Linked DNA regions of Homo sapiens: region 1 is linked to region 2. The links are contacts of gene promoters, found by promoter capture Hi-C in human tissues and cell types (Jung and others, 2019). All regions are on one chromosome and are shown on one strand. Each heading gives the region's core, a stretch centred on a gene start or on the middle of the fragment in contact. The rest is flanking DNA. Distances are from core to core; before and after follow the strand shown.

Region 1 (5,314 bases), core at 847-3,346, 74 kb after region 2:
GAGAGATATATAGATCCATGTATATACATAGATATCTAGATAGATCTAGATAGATATACAGATATAGATATATAGATCTATGTATATAGATAGATATCTGGATCTAGATAGATAGATATAGATATCTATATGGATGAAGATCTAAATCTAGATGGATATCTAGATACATAGATATCTAGTTCTAGATAGATAGATATAGGTATCTATATAGTGATGTAGATCTAGATAGATAGATAGATAAGATGTTTATAGATAGATATCCAGATCTATCTGAATAGATACATATGATAGATGATAGATTAGACAGATAGACAGATATCTAGGTCTAGATAGATAGATATCTAGGTCTAGATAGATAGACATCTAGGTCTAGATAGATAGATAAATATCTACATAGATATAGAGATTAGATAGATCAATGTATATAGATATCTAGATCTAGATATAGATACATATATAGATATAGATATATAGATCTATGTATACAGATAGATATCCAGATCTAAATAGATAGATATGGATAGATAGATAGATAGATAGATAGATAGATAGATAGATAGATAGATAAACAGATGTCTAGGCCTATATAGGTAGATAACTATATAGACAGATATATATCTATATAGATAGACATAGAGATCTAGATACACAGACACATAGACATAGGTATCTATCTATACAGATAAATAGATATTTAGATCTACCTAGATAGAGGTGATAGATAGATAGATGATAGATAGATGATAGATAGATAGATAGATAGATAGATAGATAGATACATAGATAGATAGATGATAGATAGATAGATAGAGTTTTTAAATATGCCGACAGCTGGTATGTCTTCCAGGAGGGAAGGTGGATCGGTAGTGGCAGATCTGGCAGGATTCGCCAGGGTGGAGAACTTACTGCTTGAAGGCAGGGCTGTAAGTGTACATCGTGTTACTACTCAAGTTATAGATGAACGGCAGGTGCTTGTGGATGTCTGTGGTCGACCAGTTCCTGAAGAAACTATTCAGTAAGCCTTGGTCTGCCCCTACATAATGAGCAAACACAAAAGCAGGTTAGCAAAGTATGGCTTGGTTCACTCCAAGAATGCGAGATGTGCCTGAAGCTCTCAACATAAACACTTGCCTTCAGGGTTACTAATTCCATTTCTTCTGTCTGCCAGCTGCACACATTCTCTTGGTTCTCAGAAAAGACTGATAACCCAAGCCATTGATAAAAATAAGTGCATATTCCCTCCAAAATTCTCCACCAGGAGTCCCCAGAATGAATGCTAAAATTGCATATGGAGTCCAAAGCATTCCACTGGTCCCCTAATGAATTCTCCCTGGTAGTGACAATGCTTTTCCCATCATTTTTGCCAGTTTCATTAACTTCCCCTTTACCTAGAGGCAATTCTTCACTGCTCCAGTATTTTCTTTTACTTTACAAAAATTCCAGCACATTTCCTCTCTACTGACGCCCATTTCAACAAATACTCGGCTTCAGGTTGCCTCCTTTTAATTCTCCCTATATTCTACCATGGGTCAAGCAACTACACACTGTGCATGTTTTTATAAATAAAGTTTTATTGGAACACAGCCATGCTCTTTTCTTTTTCTCTGAGACAGGGTCTCACTCTGTCAACCTGACTGGAGTGCAGTGGTGCAATCATAGCTCACTGTAGGCTTGAGCTCCTGAGCTCAGCTGCTGCTCCCAACTCAGCCTCCCAGGGCTTGGGGACTACAGGTGCCAGCATCACATCCAGCTTATTTTTGTATTTTTTGTAGAGATGGGGTCTTGCCACGTTGCCTAGGCTGGTCTTGAACTCCTGGTCTCAAGCCATCTGCCCACCCCGGTCTTGAACTCCTCGCCTCAAGCAATCTGTCCGCCCTGGCCTCCCAAAGTGCTGGGATTACAGGCATGAGCCACCACGGCCAGCCCATGTTCAATGCCAAGTACAGTCATGCAACACATAAAAGTGCTTCGGTCAAAGACAGACCATACATCTGACGGTGGTCCCATAAGATTTTATACTGTATTTTCACTGGACCTTTGTGATGTTTAGGTATGTTTAGAACACAGATACCTCCCATTATGTTACAGTTGCCTACAACATTCAGTGCACTCCCATGCTATATGGGTTTGTAGCCTAGAAGGAATAGGCTGTACCCTCCAGCCTAGGTATACAGTAGGCTACATCATCCAGGTGTGTGCAGATACACTCTGGGACGTTCATACAATGACAAAATCACTTAACAACACATTTCTCAGACCGCATCCCTGTCGCTGAGCGAGGTGTGACTGTATGGTCAACGGCTGACTTCGTGTTACATCTGCAGAGTTGAGTGTGTGCAACAGAGACCCTAAGCGTCCGGGCTGCCCTGACTTACCGTCAAAGCTGCCGTGTTCCATGGCGTGCTGTAGCAGGAGTTTATGCGTGTGGAGAGAAGGCTGGAAGACAAACACCCCGCTATTGAAGCAATCCGGCCATCCGGGGTCCGGGGCCGCAGAAAACTCTCCCCTGTCAAACAGCTCATCGACATTGGACAGCACCTGGTGAAGCAAAACACGCAGAACCCGCCGCAATGCTTCTTTTACCAATGCTTCTGTTTTTGAGACAGAGTCTTGCTCTGTCGCCCAGGCTGGAGTGCAGTGCTTCAGTCTCGGCTCACTGCGGCCTCCGCCTCCCGGGTTCAAGCGATCCCCCCACCTCAGCCTCTTGAGTAGCTGGGATTACAGGCACCTGTTACCATGCCTGGCTAATTTTTGTATTTTTAGTAAAAACGGTTTCACCGTGTTGGCCAGGCTGGTCTCAAACTCCTGGCCTCAAGTGATCCACCCATCTCAAGCTCCCAAAGTGCTGAGATTACAGGCATGAGCCACTGTGCCCAGTCACAAGTTTTTTCCCTCATGATTCTATTTTGTGCGTGTAAAATACTGTGGTTATAATTCATTCCTGGGGTAGGAACATGTCTTCCAATCCCCTGTTCTCTTCAGCAGGGTCTAGCACAGTGCTCGGGGGTATGTTATGCCTGATTATAATAGACTGAACATCTGTGTTAGAAATAGAAATGCACATGGCCTCACAGGAATCTACCAGTAAGAGGTGACAGCCCGGCCAGCATGGCGAAACCCAGTCTGTACAGAAATACAAAAATTAACCGGGCATGAAGGCGGGTGCCTGTAATAGCAGCCACTCGGGAGGCTGAGGTGGGAGAATCACTTGAACTCAGGAGGCGGAGGTTGCAGTGAGCCGAGATCGTGCCATTGCACTCCAGCTTGGGTGACAGAGCGACTGTGTCACACACACACAAAAAAAAGTTGACAGCCTGCTTAAGGATAGAGATGTGGTCTTGGAGGGTTTCCTATCAAGCAGAGAGTCTTCACTCACCAGAGTGTCTGCATCCAGGAAGACACACTTGCTGTAGTGAGTGAGAGTCCAACAGTGAAGCTTGGTGAGGGTGAGCCCGAGCTCAGGTCTCTTCAGAAAGGCCAGGTGGATGTAGTCGGCACTATCGATTAGATTCACTTCAATGACTTCATCGAACACCTTCGAGAGGATGACCCTGGAACAGACATGTGCCAAATAGTGGGACAGCGGGTGAATATTCAGCACAGAACCACCTCCTCCTTCAAGAGGGTGCTGTTTTGCTGCTCACAAACGTGGAATGCAAAGAGAATCCCCACAGCCCTCACTGCGGTCTCCATGTTCAGAGCACATTTCCACGGATGGCTTAGAGCTGTGCACACCGTCCACTTGTGCCCAAAAGCCTCTGCATGCTTGAATGCAAATGCCAATGGTGTGAAACCCCACTGTACCGGTAGAATTAATATATTACTTTAGTAATGTACCTGAGCTAAATGACGGAAGCTTTAGAGGTGCATAGAAACCACCACAATTTGTATGACATTTTGAAGTGAATTAAGCATCTTTGAACATGCTTCTTTGATAGCCATTGTTATATTTTTCAATCAACACAAAGCACAATGATTACTCTAAGTTCAATATTTTCATATTCATATATTTAAAGTCATGCAAGGCCTGGCGCGGTGGCTTATGCCTGCAATCCCAGCACTTTGGGAGGCCGAGGCAGCCGGATCACTTGAGGTCAGGAGTTCAAGATCAGCCTGGCCAGCATGGTGAAACCCCTTCTCTACTAAAAATACAAAAATTAGCCAGGTGTGGTGGCGCCTGTAGTCCCAGCTACTCAGGAGGCCGAAGCAGGAGAATCGCTTGAACCCGGGAGGCGGAGATTGCACTGACCTGAGATCGCACCACTGCACTCCAACCTGGGCAACAGAGCGAGACTCTATCTCAAAACAAACAAGCAAAAAAACAAAAACAAACAAACAAAAAATTTAAATTAGCCAGGCGTGCTGGTGGGCGCCTGTAATTCCTGCTACTCAAGAGGCTGAGGCAGGAGAATCACTTGAACCCAGGAGGCAGAGGTTGCAGTGAGCCGAGATGGCACCACTGCCCTCCAGCCTGGGCGACAGAGTGGGACTCTGTCTCAAAAAACAAACAAAAAAATAAAGTCATGCAAGCTGCAACTTCCCTGTCAAAATTACTGGCTGCCAAATTTATACCTGTTTCTTCAGCTGTACCTTTTGATATTTAGAATTTTTAAATTTCTGTGAAGTAGATTTTGTAGAATGTAATGTGTTCACTGCCTTTGTGAAGCGATATATAATTGCATAATTTCTGTGTGTAAACTGAATGCTTGGGCTTTCAATCTAGTATTCATATATAGTAATAAATATTAATATTATGAAAAAGAAATGCATGCATACTTGAAAAATGTGACAAATTGAACAGAACTGTCTTAAGATGCATGCACTTGGGCCAGCTCTTAGGAAGACAGTTTCCCTCTGTAAGCTGCAGAGGCAGAGAAATGTAAATGCTGAGCTGGTAGAAACTAACAGATGTCCATAACAATCTCTATCAATTTTTACTTTCTGTATTCAAAGCTTACATTGTTAGTTGCATACAAGTTTGAGACTCGAAGCTTGAAAGACTGTCCATTTTATCAAAGTGAAATTTGCTCTGTTCCATTTATTTATTTATTTTTGCTTAAATCCCACTTCATCATAGTCTGGAACATATTGGGATGACAGAAAAATTAAGCAAGTGCTAGAAAAGGATGGGGGCATATTGAAAGAATACAGGGGGCCAGCTAGGGGAAGCACCCAATTGCCAAAGCTGAAATAATGTAATCAATAACAAAAAACAACAAGCCCAAAATATGAAATAAATATTCATGAGCCTACACTAATATAAGTTTTCTTTTTGATACAGGGTCTCACTCTGTCACCCAGGCTAGAGTTCAGT
Region 2 (5,187 bases), core at 316-2,815:
GGCCAAAGCAGGAGGACTGCTTGAGGCAAGAGTTTGAGACCAGCTTAGGCAACATAGTGGGACCTAGTCTCTAGCAAAAAAATAAATTAACAAAAATGTGTCAGGGGTGGTGGTGCACACCGGTAGTTCCACTTCCTTGGGAGGCGGTGACAGCCTCACCCTTGACAGCCTCAGCCTTGGAAAAAGAAAGTACTGTTAATCTTGAAGACTATGGAATCATTTTGTCCCTGACCAGTGGAAGAGGACCTAAGCAACCCCCTTTGAGGGAAAGTGGGTCACCTGGGCTGGAGGTAGGGATGTGATATTGTTTTGTAAGCTAGCATTTCCTACAAAATATGAATTTATACTTTGACCAGATCTTGCATTGTGAGGGGATGTGAGGGGATGAGGTAAGACATGAAGGGGCTTGAGAGAATCAGCGACTGGAGGTCAAGAGAGTTAGACAAAAACAAAGGCTCACTGCAGCCTCAACTCTCAGCCTTGATCTTTCTAGAGGTCAAAAGAGTTAAAAACAAAACAAACAAACAACAAAGGGAGAGCCAAAGATACAAAAAAAGCATTACGTGAGAGGGTAATGAGCAAAATAGCATCATTCAAAAACAAAAGGATGAGTCACAGAAAAGATGGGGAGGGGTCCAGGGCACAGTGATTAATCAAAAGGAGTAATTTCAACAGCAGTCTGATGAAAGAAACAAAGATAAAAATAGCAATTGGAATTAGCCGGGCGTGGTGGCACGCGCCTGTAGTCCCAGCTACTCGGGAGGCTGAGGCAGGAGAATCGCTTGAACCCAGGAGACGGAGGTTGCACTGAGCCGAGATCGCACCACTGCACTCCAGCCTGGGCGACAGAGTGAGTCCCTATCTCAAAATAATAATAATAATAGTAATAAAAGCAAAAAAAAAGGGCCCATCTAGCATTCCCCGTCCCAGACTTAGAGTACAAGTCCAGCATCCGGAACAGACATTTCAAACACCAAGCTTTGAGAAACTGAAATCGCAACTTGATTGCTCTGGGTAGGTCCTAAGACCCTTCCTGACAAAAAGAAAAGGGGCTCCCTGTGCTCAAGCCTAACTGGGTTTATTTTTTATTTTTATTTATTTATTTTTTGAGACGGAGTGTCACTCTGTCGCCCAGGCTGGAGTTGCAGTGGCGCGATCTCAGCTCACTGCAACCTCCACCTCCCGGGTTCAAGCAACTCTCCTGCTTCAGCCTCCCGAATAGCTGGGACTACAGACGTGAACTACCACACCCAGCTAATTTTTGTATTTTTAGTAGAGACGGGGTTTCACCAGGTTGGCCAGGCTGGTCTCGAACTCCTGACCTCAGGTGACCCACTCGTCTTGGCCTCCCAAACTGCTGGGATTCCAGGCGGGAGCCACCGCGCCCGGTCAATCGTAACTGGGTTTAATCAGCTCCTTAGCCCAGGCCTTCCCGTGTGACGACCTGGGAAAACCTGTTTCCACGCGCAGGTCCCGGAGGTCCCGAGAGCCAGGAGATGACGCGGATGAAGGAGGGGCGGGCGCCCGGCCCAGATCCCGCAGCTGAGAGGGCGGAAGCCTTGGCACTAGCGGCGCCCGGGCGCGGAGTGCGCAGGGCAAGGTCCTGCGCTCTGGGCCAGCGCTCGGCCATGCGATCCGCCGCGCGGAGGGGACGCGCCGCGCCCGCCGCCAGGTGCCTGGGACCCCGGGACGCGGCCCATACTAAGGCCTAGGGTGGGGGCCTGGGGAGGGGGTCGCGAGCACGGCGAGGGGCGCCCCGGGCGAGCCTGGGCCCCTGTAAAGGGCGTGGTTGTGTCCGGCGCCTTGTAGTCTCCAAAATGTAGCTGGAGGCGCGTTCTGTGCCCGGGAAAGACGCCAGACAGCAGAGCCCAGGGATGGGGGGCGACTGAGGGGACGAAGGGCGGGTGGAGGAGACCGAACTGAAGGGAAGGCGGAAGGGCAGGGAAAGAGAACAAAGGAGGAAGGGAAGGGAGGGCGGAGGAAGGCTGGCCGGGACCCGGAGGGAGCGGAAACTGGGCCGGTCACGCCCTGCTGGGTCCTCCGCCTTCCACGCCCAGCTACACCGCTGCCCGGATTCGGCCTTCAAAGGCTCCCTAAGACCCGCCCCGAACCGCGCCCCCCGCTCTGCCCCACTAAGACGCGCCCCGTCCCGCCCCAAGGCTCCATCCCCCGAAGCGTAGCCTTGCCCGCCCCACTTCCTAAGAGGCACCCCGTCCCGCCCCCAACCCCCCAGCTCGATGCCTTCCAGCACGGCCGTGTTCCCCGGGTCCACTAAGACGCTCCCTGTCCCTCCCCAACGCCCCGTCCTCCCGAGCACAGCTGTGACGCCCTCCCGATTTCTAAGAAGGCCCCTTCCCGCCCCCCGCCTCTTCGGCCCCACCATGACATGCTCCATCCCGCCCCCCGGCCCTTTGCCTTCCCAGCACGGCTGTGCCCTCCCCCTCATCCCACTAAGACGCGCCCCGTCCTTCCCCCAGACCCCATCCTCCCAAGCACGGCTGTGACTCCCCCAACACGCTCGGTAAGACACGCCCCTTTCCCCCCCGTGGGCTTCATTGGGCGCCCTCCCCCCAGCACCGCCGTGCCTACCCCGGTCACCCCCCAAGACTTCTCTGTCCCGTCCCCATCTCCACCACAAGCGCGGCCGTTACTTCCCTCTGGCCATCCCCCGGCGCCTTGGCCTTGTGCCGCCTCCATGTCCCCACCCTCTAGCACCGCCATGCCCCGCTGCACTTCCTCAGATGCGCCGGGTCCTGCATTCCCAGCTTCATTTGCGCCCCAGTGCCACCGGTAGAGGGTCGTGACTGCAAGTTGTCCAGGTTCTTGGCGTTTTGAACAAAGAATTGGACAAAACGCCCAGCAAAGAAAGAATGAAGCAACAAAAGAAGGAAAGCAGGGATTTATTGAAAACAAAAGGACACGTCACAGTGTGGGAGCCGACCAAGCAGCGGCTCAAGGGCCCGGGTACATAATCTTCTTGGGTCCAAATACCCCCTAGAAGTTTCCCATTGGCCACTTCATGCTCACCTCATGTAACTGAAGTGGTGGCCCGCGATCAGTCTGATTGGTTGCAGGCAGCAGCCAACCAAAGGGTGAAGTTACAAAGGTCACACTCCTGTGCAAACATCTGATTGGTTGCAAAACCCAACTAATCAGAGACTAGGGTGAAGTCACAAAGTTGCACACGAAGACTAGACCCGAAATCAGTCCGATTGGTTGCAGACAGCCAGTCTACTATCTACCCAATAGAAAAGGTCAAAGGGAAGCCTTCGGTCCTTTTGTTACTTAGGCATGGAAAGTTAGGATTTTCCCGCCAGGCGAGGTGGCTCATGCCTGTAATCCCAGCACTTTGGGAGGCCGAGACGGGTGGATCACCTGAGGTCAGGAGTTTGAGACCAGCATGGCCAATATGGTGAAATCCCGTCTCTACTAAAAATACAAAAATTAGGCCGGGCCTCTACTAAAATTACAAAAAAATTAGCCGGGCGTGGTGGCAGGCACCTGTGATCCCAGCTACTCAGGAGGCTGAGACAGGAGAATCGCTTGAACCCTGGAGGTGGAGGTTGCAGTGAGCCCGGATCATGCCATTGAACTGCAGCCTGGGCGACAAGAGTGAAACTCCATCTCAAAAAATAATAATAAAAATTAAAATTAAAAAAAAAAGGAAAGTTAGGATTTTCCTTTCAATTTACTTCTAGGAAGTCGGCATGGAAAGCCTTAGGTTCCCTGCCTCCAGACCCTATTCTCCTGCCTCAGCAGCACTGCCGTGCCTCTCGCCACCCTCCAAGACACGCCCCGTCCTGTCCCCTTCCGCGGCCATTGCCCTGCTGGCCACACCGGATCCCTCCCCATGGCCTTATTCCTCCCCTGCCCCCCAGTAGAGCCGTGTCCCCTCACACACCCTGAGACACACCCCTCGTTCGCGTCCTCCCCGGAGAGCACAGCCACGATCCCCCAACACTAAGACACCACCTATCCACTGCAGTTCAAGGACTGCTTGAATCAATCCTCCCACCTCAGAATCAGGCAGAGGTTGCTGTAAGCCACCATCATGCCACTACAGCCTGGGCAGCACAGCAAGACCCCATCTCAAAAAAAAGAAAAAAAAGAATAATAAAGCAGATTGGTTGTTTCAAAGTTACTTTTCTTACAGGGTTAAAGCACGGGAGACTTTGTTAGCTCAGATGAACTACACATCTTCTTCTTGCTTACTCAAATCTTCTGTTTTTTGGAAAACTGACCTGTTTCCCTGTTCAGCTTGACGATGTGGCAGTTAACACAAGTGACTCCATTCCAGTTTGTTCTGACCTGTATGGTCTAGTGTGGCAGGCCAGGTCTCACTAATGCAGGCCTCCGTAACAACTGTTTCAGCACTGACTGAGTGTGAAGTTACATACTAAAAGCTGAAACAACCAGCGCCTTTATGCACAGGCTGGGATGTAACAAAAGCACACCAAGAGTTCTGCCCAGGCCTCTCCTGGGCCTTTGAAGCATGACAAGATAACGAAGGAATTCTTAACAGGACCCATTTAGGATTAAACAAGTTTTATTGTGGGTCTGAAGAAACTCCCCAGACCTCCACAAACAAGCTTTGTTGGGGACTAAAGGAACTCCCCAGAACTCTGTGATTTAGCAGGAGACAAGATAAGGGTAATCACCCCAGCACCTGGACCCATCTAGATTAAGTCAATTCACCGAGGCTCCAGAGGAAGGTCTTCAGGACTCAGATCTTAATTACAGATTAGAAGAAGTTAATCACTTATGTCTTTAGATAAATGCACACTTACACTTAGACATATAGCTTTGAAGGTATATAAGCTCTGGAAAGCTTTGTAATTTTGAGTTGGTTGGGAGAGAATTTCCAGGCCTTCCTCCTGTAACTGGTTACAGAATTAAAAACTCTCTTCTTTCCCAATTCATCTGCATCTCGCTATTGGGTCACAAGAAATAGCAGTCTGACCCTCGGTTTGGCCCAGGGACACCAGTGCAGGAATTCAGGCCAAGACAATAACCTCCCATAAAGCTGAACGTCTTAATTTAGTGGTAAGACCTTCGCCTTCCCAGCGAGCTGCCTTGAAATGCCTACTTCCCTTGCCAAATTGTAGATAGTCATTTCTGTGTTTCGCTTTTCTCTCCAGGGACTCTTTGCCGGTGCTACTGTTTTTATGCTTGCTTCTGAAGACGTGT

What was found. The method cuts DNA at HindIII sites, captures the fragments that hold promoters and counts their contacts. A contact is called where the count stands out against the background at its distance.
Region 1: a contact is called between a fragment that was not itself captured here and the fragment with the promoter of ARSD in region 2, in 4 of the 25 tissues and cell types used here (aorta, pancreas, small bowel and 1 more).

Annotation. Positions count from the first base shown.
Region 1 is chrX:2,852,217-2,857,530 of GRCh38, reverse strand. It overlaps GYG2 (glycogenin 2), which reads right to left. Exons shown (of 11, transcript NM_001079855.2): 4 at 3,377-3,551; 5 at 2,376-2,538; 6 at 907-1,033. Among named protein-coding and RNA genes, the nearest start is that of GYG2, 26 kb to the right of the region's middle. The HindIII fragment of the contact is 8,433 bases long and covers 1-5,314 here.
Region 2 is chrX:2,925,717-2,930,903 of GRCh38, reverse strand. ARSD (arylsulfatase D) reads left to right here and starts at 1,565. Exons shown (of 10, transcript NM_001669.4): 1 at 1,565-1,672; 2 at 5,139-5,187. The coding sequence starts at 1,629. RefSeq lists silencers at 1,548-1,897, 1,918-2,077. The HindIII fragment of the contact is 14,341 bases long and covers 1-5,187 here.